Linked DNA regions of Homo sapiens: all the other regions are linked to region 3. The links are contacts of gene promoters, found by promoter capture Hi-C in blood cells and fetal thymus (Javierre and others, 2016). All regions are on one chromosome and are shown on one strand. The core of a region is centred on a gene start or on the middle of the fragment in contact, and the rest is flanking DNA. Distances in the headings are between cores, read along the strand shown. Region 1 overlaps ZNF71 (zinc finger protein 71). Region 2 holds the start of LOC105372473 (a long non-coding RNA gene). Region 3 holds the start of LINC01530 (long intergenic non-protein coding RNA 1530).

Region 1 (2,700 bases), core at 134-2,633, 5.0 Mb before region 3:
AGGGACCTGCTTGACCAATAGAATCTGGCAGAGGTAATGTTCTGGGACTCTCAGGCTAGATCACAGAAGACTTCCAGCTCCTGCCTCAGCCTCCTGGAACACTTGCTCTGGGAGAAGCCAGTCATCACAACAGGTGTCTCATTATGTCTCATTACTCACATGCCATGCTGTGAGGAAGCCCAAGCAGCCACAAGGAAAATCCATGTGGAAAAAAAAAAGATGCCCACCAAGGCCTCAGCGGTGCCATCCATACCACAGCAAGAGACAGACATGTGAGCAAAGAAGCCAGCAGACTACTCTAGCCCAGCTGCCATCCAACAGCCACCACACAAGAGATGCCAGGCACGAACTGCCCAGCTGAGCCCATCAACCCCAAAATAGTAATAAATTGTAGTTTTTGAGCCATTAAGTTCTGAGATGGTTACTACCCAGCAAAATATAACTGGATCGGAAATTTAACTGATTAATTTATAATTTTCCGGGCTACCAGAAAAGTATGGTTGAATTTTTACCCCCTAAACAGGAATTCTAGATCAATGGTATCTAATACATATTCTAACATATTCTAAATATGTTCATTGATGGTTCCTGGAAACACACAGAGTGATACTTCACCCTTTCATGTATTCATTTGACGAATATTTATTAAGTGCCTGCCATGCACCAGGCACTGGGCATACAACTGTGAATAAGACAGACATGGTATTGGCACCAGGTTTCTTCCATACTAATTCATTAGTAAATAATGATAAAAATAACTAATGTTCATTAAGCACATACTACATGCCAGGTATTGTTCTAAGCCCACTGCACACACCATCTCACTTAATCTTCAAAAGAACCCTACTATGTAGGCACTTTTATGAGCTCATTTCTTTTACAAAGGGGGAGACTGAGGCACAAGAGGTCACACAGATGGGAGTGGCAGCATTTTAAACCTAGTCAGTTCAACTCTCAGCCCCAACATTAGATGGCCTCATCCATGTATAATACCAATCTAGCTGGCATCACAGCCAAGGAGCAGTTTAGTTTGGATCAGACCCTGAGATGGATGGCACGTCTTTTGCCTATAAAGAAGACAGTTGGATAAATATCACAGAGTGTCCCAGCTGGCGCTTCTCTTCCAGACAGATCACAAGCGATCCTGAAGCCACTTCCAGAGATGGTGCTTGACAGTCGACCTCCTCCCTAGTGTGATGAAGGCCTGCACGTCTCACATTATTGCTGGCTGATCACATCATCCATGCATGACTCTGCCACATGAAGATCTTGAGCCATGGCCACAGATTAAATTTCTGATCCAGTTATATTTTGCTGGGTAGCAGCCATCTCAGAACTTAATGGCTCAAAAACAACAATTTATTACTATTTTGGGGTTGATGGGCTCAGCTGGGCAGTTCGTGCCTGGCATCTCTTGTGTGGTGGCAGTTGGATGGCAGCTGGGCTAGAGTAGTCTGCTAGCTTCTTTGTTTACAAGTCTGTCTCTTGAGCTGGTATGGATGGCACAGCTGAGGCCTTGGTGGGCATCTCTTTTTCTCCACATCACTTTTCCTTGTGGCTGCTTGGGCTTCCTCACAGCATGGCATGTGAGTAATGAGAGACCTATTGTGTCCTACAGAGGGACCTGCTGTTCTGAACTGATTCAGTGGTACAACCCCCAAGGCACAAGGAAAGAACGGGAGTTCTGAGCACACAGAGCATATGAGATGTACCTGGGCCTGAAGCCAGCTGTACACATTTCTATTTTGCTCCTATGGGGGTTTCAAAATTGTTTTTAATTGTTACTCACATGAAAAACACATCCACAATTTACCAAGAAAATGAATTTCTAGTTTCTCTTTAAACAGCAGAATATCTGGCCACTCTAGGCTGGAGCTGAGTGGTGGCTGACCCTTTGATGGGGCAAGAAAGCTCCAATTTGCTACAGGCCCCACCTGCCCACTTATTTATGTAAGACACTCAGAATGGTAATGCATAGCATACAGCAGGCACTCAATAAGTGCCAGCTATTGTTACTGACACTCAGAGCTCACTGGCTCTCTCCAGCATACTGAGTGTCCCCACCACCAACTGAATCCCAAGGGGAGGCCTCACCCCCGCTGGCTAGTCCCTCTATGGTCCTAGGGTGCCCTTCTGGGGCTTGGGCTCAAGATAGCCTCCTCTGCCTGAGGGGTCACCTTTGATAGAAAGCAGTTGGGCTGGTGGTTCAGAGTGTAGGCTCAGGAACCACACTCTGCAACGGAATCCTGGCTCTGCCCCTCATGAGCTGTGTTTCCTTGGACAACTGTCTTTCTCTTTCTAAGCCTCATATGAGAGGCAGGCTTCCTGATAACAATGTCCCCCTCCACAGGGTCGTAAGGTTAAATGTGTACAAATATGGTCCAAACACAGTGCCTCGTGTGATGGAGGAAGCTCTCAGTAAATGTCGACTCTTGCTATTATTTAATGTTGATATTTAATATATATCTTATGTACAACTGTAGATCCTTATATGATATTATTTGACCTTTTGGCCCAATGTATCTTTCAGCCAGCCCAGCTAATAATTCCTCCTTTTCTAAAAATTTAAACTACTTGATTGAGGTGTGACTGATATATAAAAAGCTGTGCATATTTAATAATATACATAACTTGATGAGTTTGCAGATGCATATACACCCGTGGAACCATCACCACCATCAAGGCCATAAACGGATCCAT
Region 2 (2,841 bases), core at 338-2,837, 5.1 Mb before region 3:
TTGGGTTATGGCCCACCCTATTTACTCATTTTAACTTTATTACCTCTGTAAAGAACCTGTCTCCAAATAAAGTCACATTCTGAGGAATAGGGGGTTAGCATTCCAACATATATTTGGGAGGGGGGTGAGCATAAATCAACCCCCAACAGGTAAATGTGGCTTTCTAAAGAAAATTGTCTTAAAAACCATATTTAAAGGAAATGAATATTTGAGTTGTTTCTGTTGTCCATCCTTTGAGGAAAATGTCCCTTCTCATGAAGCTTCCAGAAGGAAGAGGGAAGCACAGAATGCCTCTTGAGGTCTACGAATAAGTAAAATATGAACTGTAAATAAAGCATGTGTCATGGTTTAAGGGCAGCCGTGGGGCTACATAAAGTAATGTGGAATCTCACAATCAATGGCATGTTGGTTTAGTGAAATGCATTTTTTTTCCCATTCTATCTTCACAGATTTCTCTGCTTTTCCAATTATCTAAAAATGATCTCATGCCTATGTTTCCAATGGCCAAGGGAATAATTTAGGAAGGCTAACAGAATTCCTTCAGAGCAGGCACCTTAAAATAATGCCGGCCAATAGTAAATGCCATGTGCATGTCAACTATTAAAATTATTTAAGGCCGAGGTGGAAGGATTGGAGTTCAAGACTAGCCAGGGCAACATAGCGACACCTCATCTCTACAAAAAATAAAAGTTAAAAAAAAGTTAGCCAGTGTGGTGGCACATGCCTGCAATCTCAGCTACTCAGGAGGCTAAGATGGGAGGATCACTAGAGTTGGGGAGGTCGAGGATGCAGTGAGCCGTGATTGTACCACTGCACTCCAGCCTGTGCAACAAAGCGAAACTGTTTCTAAAAAATAAAACTCTCTCCTGCCTCTGCCAGGAGAGAGCTTGTTCCTCCAACCCCAGGAGGCCAGGCAAGCATGGACAGGAGCCAAGGGAGCAGGGTCATGAACTTTTTCATCTTTGCAAAGTGGGCACTTGGCATCAGGGTCCCATCACCAGAAAGCACCAAAGCCCCTGGCACCCCACCCACTCCATCCTACCCAGGGACCCCAAGTAGGCAACTGCTATGGCAGTGGGTCCAGCCCAGGCCGGCACTGCCAGCCTCCTCTCCCTGCAGTAGGCACCAGCTCTACCTCCCCCGGCAGGCAATGTCCTGGCTTCTCAGCCCAGCACCATCTGTTCCCCTAGACTTCTCAGGGGCCAGCCCAGTCTGGGCCACCCTTTCCCTCATCCTCGGCTCCCACACAGGTGACAGGCCCAGCAGATAGCTTCTCTCTGGGAAAGGTTGGATGCTGCCTTACATCCCCTTCTATCCCTCCTCCCATCCACACACACAGGCACCCACCCACACCAGGTCTGCTTGTTTCTCACATGTAGGGAGAGGGGGGGAGACCAACCCCTTTGTGTCTTTTGAAATACGAAGAAAAATGTGTGTTCAGGAGCATGACTCCAGTGCTGGGCTCTTGGGCCCAGTTCAGTCTGTCTTGTCTCAAATCTAGGCACTTTTGCTTCAATTTTATTTTTTTTAAGAAAACAAAAACAGAAATCTGCACTAATTTACCTGGTTCTTAGGAAAACTTTTTTTTATTTTTTACATTTTTTGGTGTCCGTTTGTATTGAATAATTTGCTACATTTGTAAAATGTAAGAGGTATATATAATATATGTATATTTCTAACGTAAAAACAATTTTTTTCTTTTCAAGATTTTTTCTTAAAAAGATGAGAGAAACATATTTTTTCAGGAAAAACAAACTTTAAAAAAAAAAGAGGAGAAATAAAACCTTTTCTCCCCTTTCCCCATCCTCTATCTATCCCTGTTTCCCAGGAACAAATCAAAAGGTGGATTATCTTCTGAAGAATGGAAACTGTTAGTCCAGAATGATGTCTTTTTCTCAATGCAGTGAGTTATAGATTCTCTAGTTTTCTCCCTAGGGATGGGAAGGGGGCATTGACGCAAGCCTGGAGAGGAGCCCGGGGAGCAGGGTCATGAAGTTTTTTCTTCAGTGAAGGAGGAATACAATCAAGGGTTTTGTATTCAGAATGTTGTGCAATATTTTGGAATAGGACATTGGTGTGTTTAGAGATTTTAGTTTAAAAACAAAACAAAAAGATTGATCAAATCTGTACAGTTTCTATTGTTCCAGATTTTTTAAAGTTTGTATTAAAAGCATGATACATAATAAAAATAAATAAATAAATAAAACTAAAAAGTAAAATGAAATTCTTCATCTATGTTAATGGATTTGCCACCTTCTTTGCCATAGACTGGAATGACATCAGCTACCTGAGACCAAAATAAAAGTGTGGGTTGCAAACCCTGGCACCTACCTTTTTAGATTCCGCAGCCTGCAGTAGGGACTTAGCCTGTCTGAACCTCAGCTTCCTTCTTTCTTCTTCTTTTTTTTTGAGACGAAGTCTCGCTCTGTCACCCAGGCTGGAGTGCAGTGGTGCGATCTCAGCTCACTGCAACCCTCGCCTCCCAGGTTCAAGCCATTCTCCCGCCTCAGCCTTCCAAGTAGCTGGAAGTGCATGCCACCATGCTCGGCTAATTTTTGTATTTTTAGTAGAGACGGGGGTTTCGCCATATTGGCCAGGCTGGTCTCGAACTCCTGACCTCAGGTGATCCACCCGCCTCGGCCTCCCTAAGCGCTGGGATGACAGGTGCCCGGACTCAAGTTCCTTCTTTCTAAGCCTGTGGGCTCGGCCTCATCCCCTGAGCAAGAAAAAAGTCCCACCCCTGAGTTACTGGAAGCGCCCACCGCCATGCACTGAGGCTGTAGTGGGCGGGGCTCGGGGCAGCAGCCCGGCGCTCCTCGGGCCCCCAGGGGTCAGCGCCCT
Region 3 (2,700 bases), core at 81-2,580:
GGGGTTCTTTAGGGTGGCTGGAGGCCTTTGAGCTGAGGCCAACAAAATGAGTAGACAGATATTGGGTCAGGGTGGGAAGAATGCTCCAAATTGAGTTAATAGCAAATGCAAAGGACATGAAGGGCAGGGCCTGGCTGTGTTCAGCCCATTGGAAAGTGTGTTGTGACTGAGGACGACCAGAAAGGACCAGAAGCTTAGAGGTTGGCAGGATAAGGAGCTTGGATTTTATTCTGAGATGGGAACCACTGGATGATTTTAAGCTGGGGGGCAGGGTAGTGACTGGTGACAGGATCTGATTTATATTTCCACAGGCTTCCTGGCACTGTGCCTGAATAGAGGGTGGAGTGTGGCAAGGGAAGAAACAGAACAGTGAGGAGGCCCCTGCAGTGATGCAGGTGAGGAGTAACGGTAGCTCGGAGCAGAATGGAGACAGTGGAAGTGGAGAGAAGTGGTTAGATTCTGGGCCTCTTCTGGAGATAGAGACGATGAGACTCACACAAGATTTGGTTGCGGGAGGGAAGCGGATGAGAGAAACAGAACACTGGCGACCATTCCAAGATTTTGGCTTGAGCACTTGGATGGACAGTTAGTGGGGAGGAGGCAGAAAGATTGTGAGAGGAGCAGGTTTAGGACAGGGAATCTGGGATTTCGTTTGGATGTGGTAGATTTGAGGTCCTTTGCTCTGTAAGGTCTTTCCTGAACCCTGGGCTGGGTCTAGCACCTCCTCTGTGTTCCCACAGCCTCCTGAGCACCCCCTGGGCCAGCCCTGACCACTCTGTGTTGTAACCAGGACAGAGGAGGGTGCACTCGCACTGCACCCAGGTTGAAGGGCGAGAGTGAGAAGGTGTCAGGCTGGGCCGCAGAATCCAAAGCGGGTCAGCAGGTACAACAGCTGCTTAGAGCACTCCCACCCGGAGAGAGGGATTGAGAGATCACGGAAAAGGGTGCCATCTTTCCAGGGACGCCTACCAGAACGCGGGGGAGAGAAATACAGAGACCCTCAACTCCGCCACGTCATCGCGACAAAGGGCCAGGACCGGCCGGCCGCGGGATGGGCGCTCACCTGGGCAGAACTGGAGCTGGAAGGGCCAACCTCCAAAGAAACGAGGAGCGGGCGGAAGGACTACGACTCCCGGAAGGCTTTGGGCCCATCCGCCTACGACTCCCAGGTGCCCCTGCGTTGCGTCGTCCCGAAACACTTGCGGCTCTCGGACAAACTGGGCCTACAGTTCCCAGAGATCCTCGCGGCAGCGCTGCGCATTCTGCGCACGCCTCCCAGAGTGTACTAGGCCGGTCCGGCCCGCTTCCCGTCTGCGCCTGCGCAAGCACAATAGCCGTGCCAGAATTCTCTGCCAGCTGCTGTGCACTGCTGTCAGTGCAAAGATGGGATGGACTTTTTTTTCAGATTTTCTGCTGTTGTGGGAGTATGGCAAGAGTTTGAGGGGGCGGAGAAAGAGATTGGGAATGTGAAAAGGGAAGATAGCACCTGCGCTAAGCACATTCCTAGGATTGGGCCGCGTCTCGGGGATGCAGAGTGGGCTCTTCGGCGCGCCCTGCAGCCATGGGAGTGGACGCCTGCCCAGGCCGAAGGGCAAGGACTTGCGGGGTGGGGTCTCTGTGCATGCGCGGAGCTGAAAGGGAGCGTTTTGCAGATCTCCACGCGTGCGCAACTCTCGGGACGTGGACGCGGTGAACAGTTACGCACAATCGTCTTTCTGACACAAACACACCCTGCCAGGTGGAAGCCAGGATGGAGGGCAGGTGAGACCCGTAAGGCAAGATCCCAAAACCAAGGAACGGAGCACTCTCCCCGCTTGCTCCCCAGATCCAAGCCCTCCACTTCCTTCCAATGCCCCCCTTCCCGAAACTGCTCCCTCCTGTATATTCTGAGATCTTATCACTATTCCCGTGAGGCCCTTGATAAGGAGGATTGAGAGTGAAGGGTGATGGGAGACACGCCTTGGGCGTCTTCTGTCCACCTCAAGGATTGAACTTTGGTAACTGGAACTCATTCATTTGTTAATCTGTGTGCTAGGCCCTTTGACCCGCTGGCCAGATGCACCGGGACACAGGTGTATTCAGCCTGGTCCAGAGATAAGGATGATAAATCTTAATGTAAAGGTATCAGATGTTAAGGGCTGCAGGAGCCCAGAGGTTACAAGTGCTGCAAGCCAGAACATGGGGAAACAACAGCAATTAAGCCGTTAGCTTGTGCCTTGGAGGGGTGTTTGCCCTGCACCCCACTCACTACCTGAAGATAAATGGCTTCTCCAACGTGTAGTGGGGTTGGGATGATGAGGATGACATCACTGCCAGGTGGGAGGCAGGAGCTGCAGGTCCTGACATGATGAGGCAGGTATGGGCCGCCCTGGGCTGAGGGGGACATGGGCTACCCTGGACTGGAGGGCTGGGCTGTGGCATGGGGACCCTGTCAGAGACAGGTGTTTGGCCTCCATGCCTTCCTGTGTCTCTGGAAGGGTGAAACTAAGCGGGATGCTCCTCTCCCAGCCCCACCTGCTTTTCAGAGGCTACCATATGCTGGAGGGGGAAGATCCTGGCCACAAGCAGAGGCCCTGGAGGTGAATCAGTGTTGGAAGTGGGGTGGTTGGTTCTGGGTCCTCCCTGAGGCTCACATGGCTGCCCCTCCCCATCCTCCAGGCCTCGCCTTCTGTCCCGGATCCGCCAATCCTCCGATCCCTG

What was found. Contacts are between HindIII fragments. The CHiCAGO score rates a contact against its expected background, and 5 or more counts as called.
Region 1: a fragment that was not itself captured here is called in contact with the fragment with the promoter of LINC01530 in region 3 in 1 of 17 cell types (non-activated CD4 T cells); the score reaches 5.5 in non-activated CD4 T cells.
Region 2: a contact is called between a fragment that was not itself captured here and the fragment with the promoter of LINC01530 in region 3, in 1 of 17 cell types (total CD8 T cells). The highest score is 6.5, in total CD8 T cells.

The regions. Positions count from the first base shown.
Region 1 is chr19:56,604,193-56,606,892 of GRCh38, reverse strand. The region is part of intron 2 of ZNF71 (zinc finger protein 71); the gene reads right to left. All of the region lies in intron 2 of ZNF71-SMIM17 (ZNF71-SMIM17 readthrough (NMD candidate)), which reads right to left. Among named protein-coding and RNA genes, the nearest start is that of ZNF71-SMIM17, 10 kb to the right of the region's middle. The HindIII fragment of the contact is 7,069 bases long and covers 1-2,700 here.
Region 2 is chr19:56,671,922-56,674,762 of GRCh38, reverse strand. LOC105372473 (a long non-coding RNA gene) reads right to left here and starts at 2,784. Exons shown (of 4, transcript XR_936110.4): 1 at 2,332-2,784. The HindIII fragment of the contact is 2,649 bases long and covers 263-2,841 here.
Region 3 is chr19:51,593,010-51,595,709 of GRCh38, reverse strand. It overlaps LINC01530 (long intergenic non-protein coding RNA 1530), which reads left to right and starts at 1,330. Exons shown (of 2, transcript NR_034159.1): 1 at 1,330-1,761; 2 at 2,659-2,700. RefSeq lists a silencer at 413-580 and enhancers at 663-712, 923-1,232, 979-1,614, 1,615-2,250, 2,251-2,700. The HindIII fragment of the contact is 8,842 bases long and covers 196-2,700 here.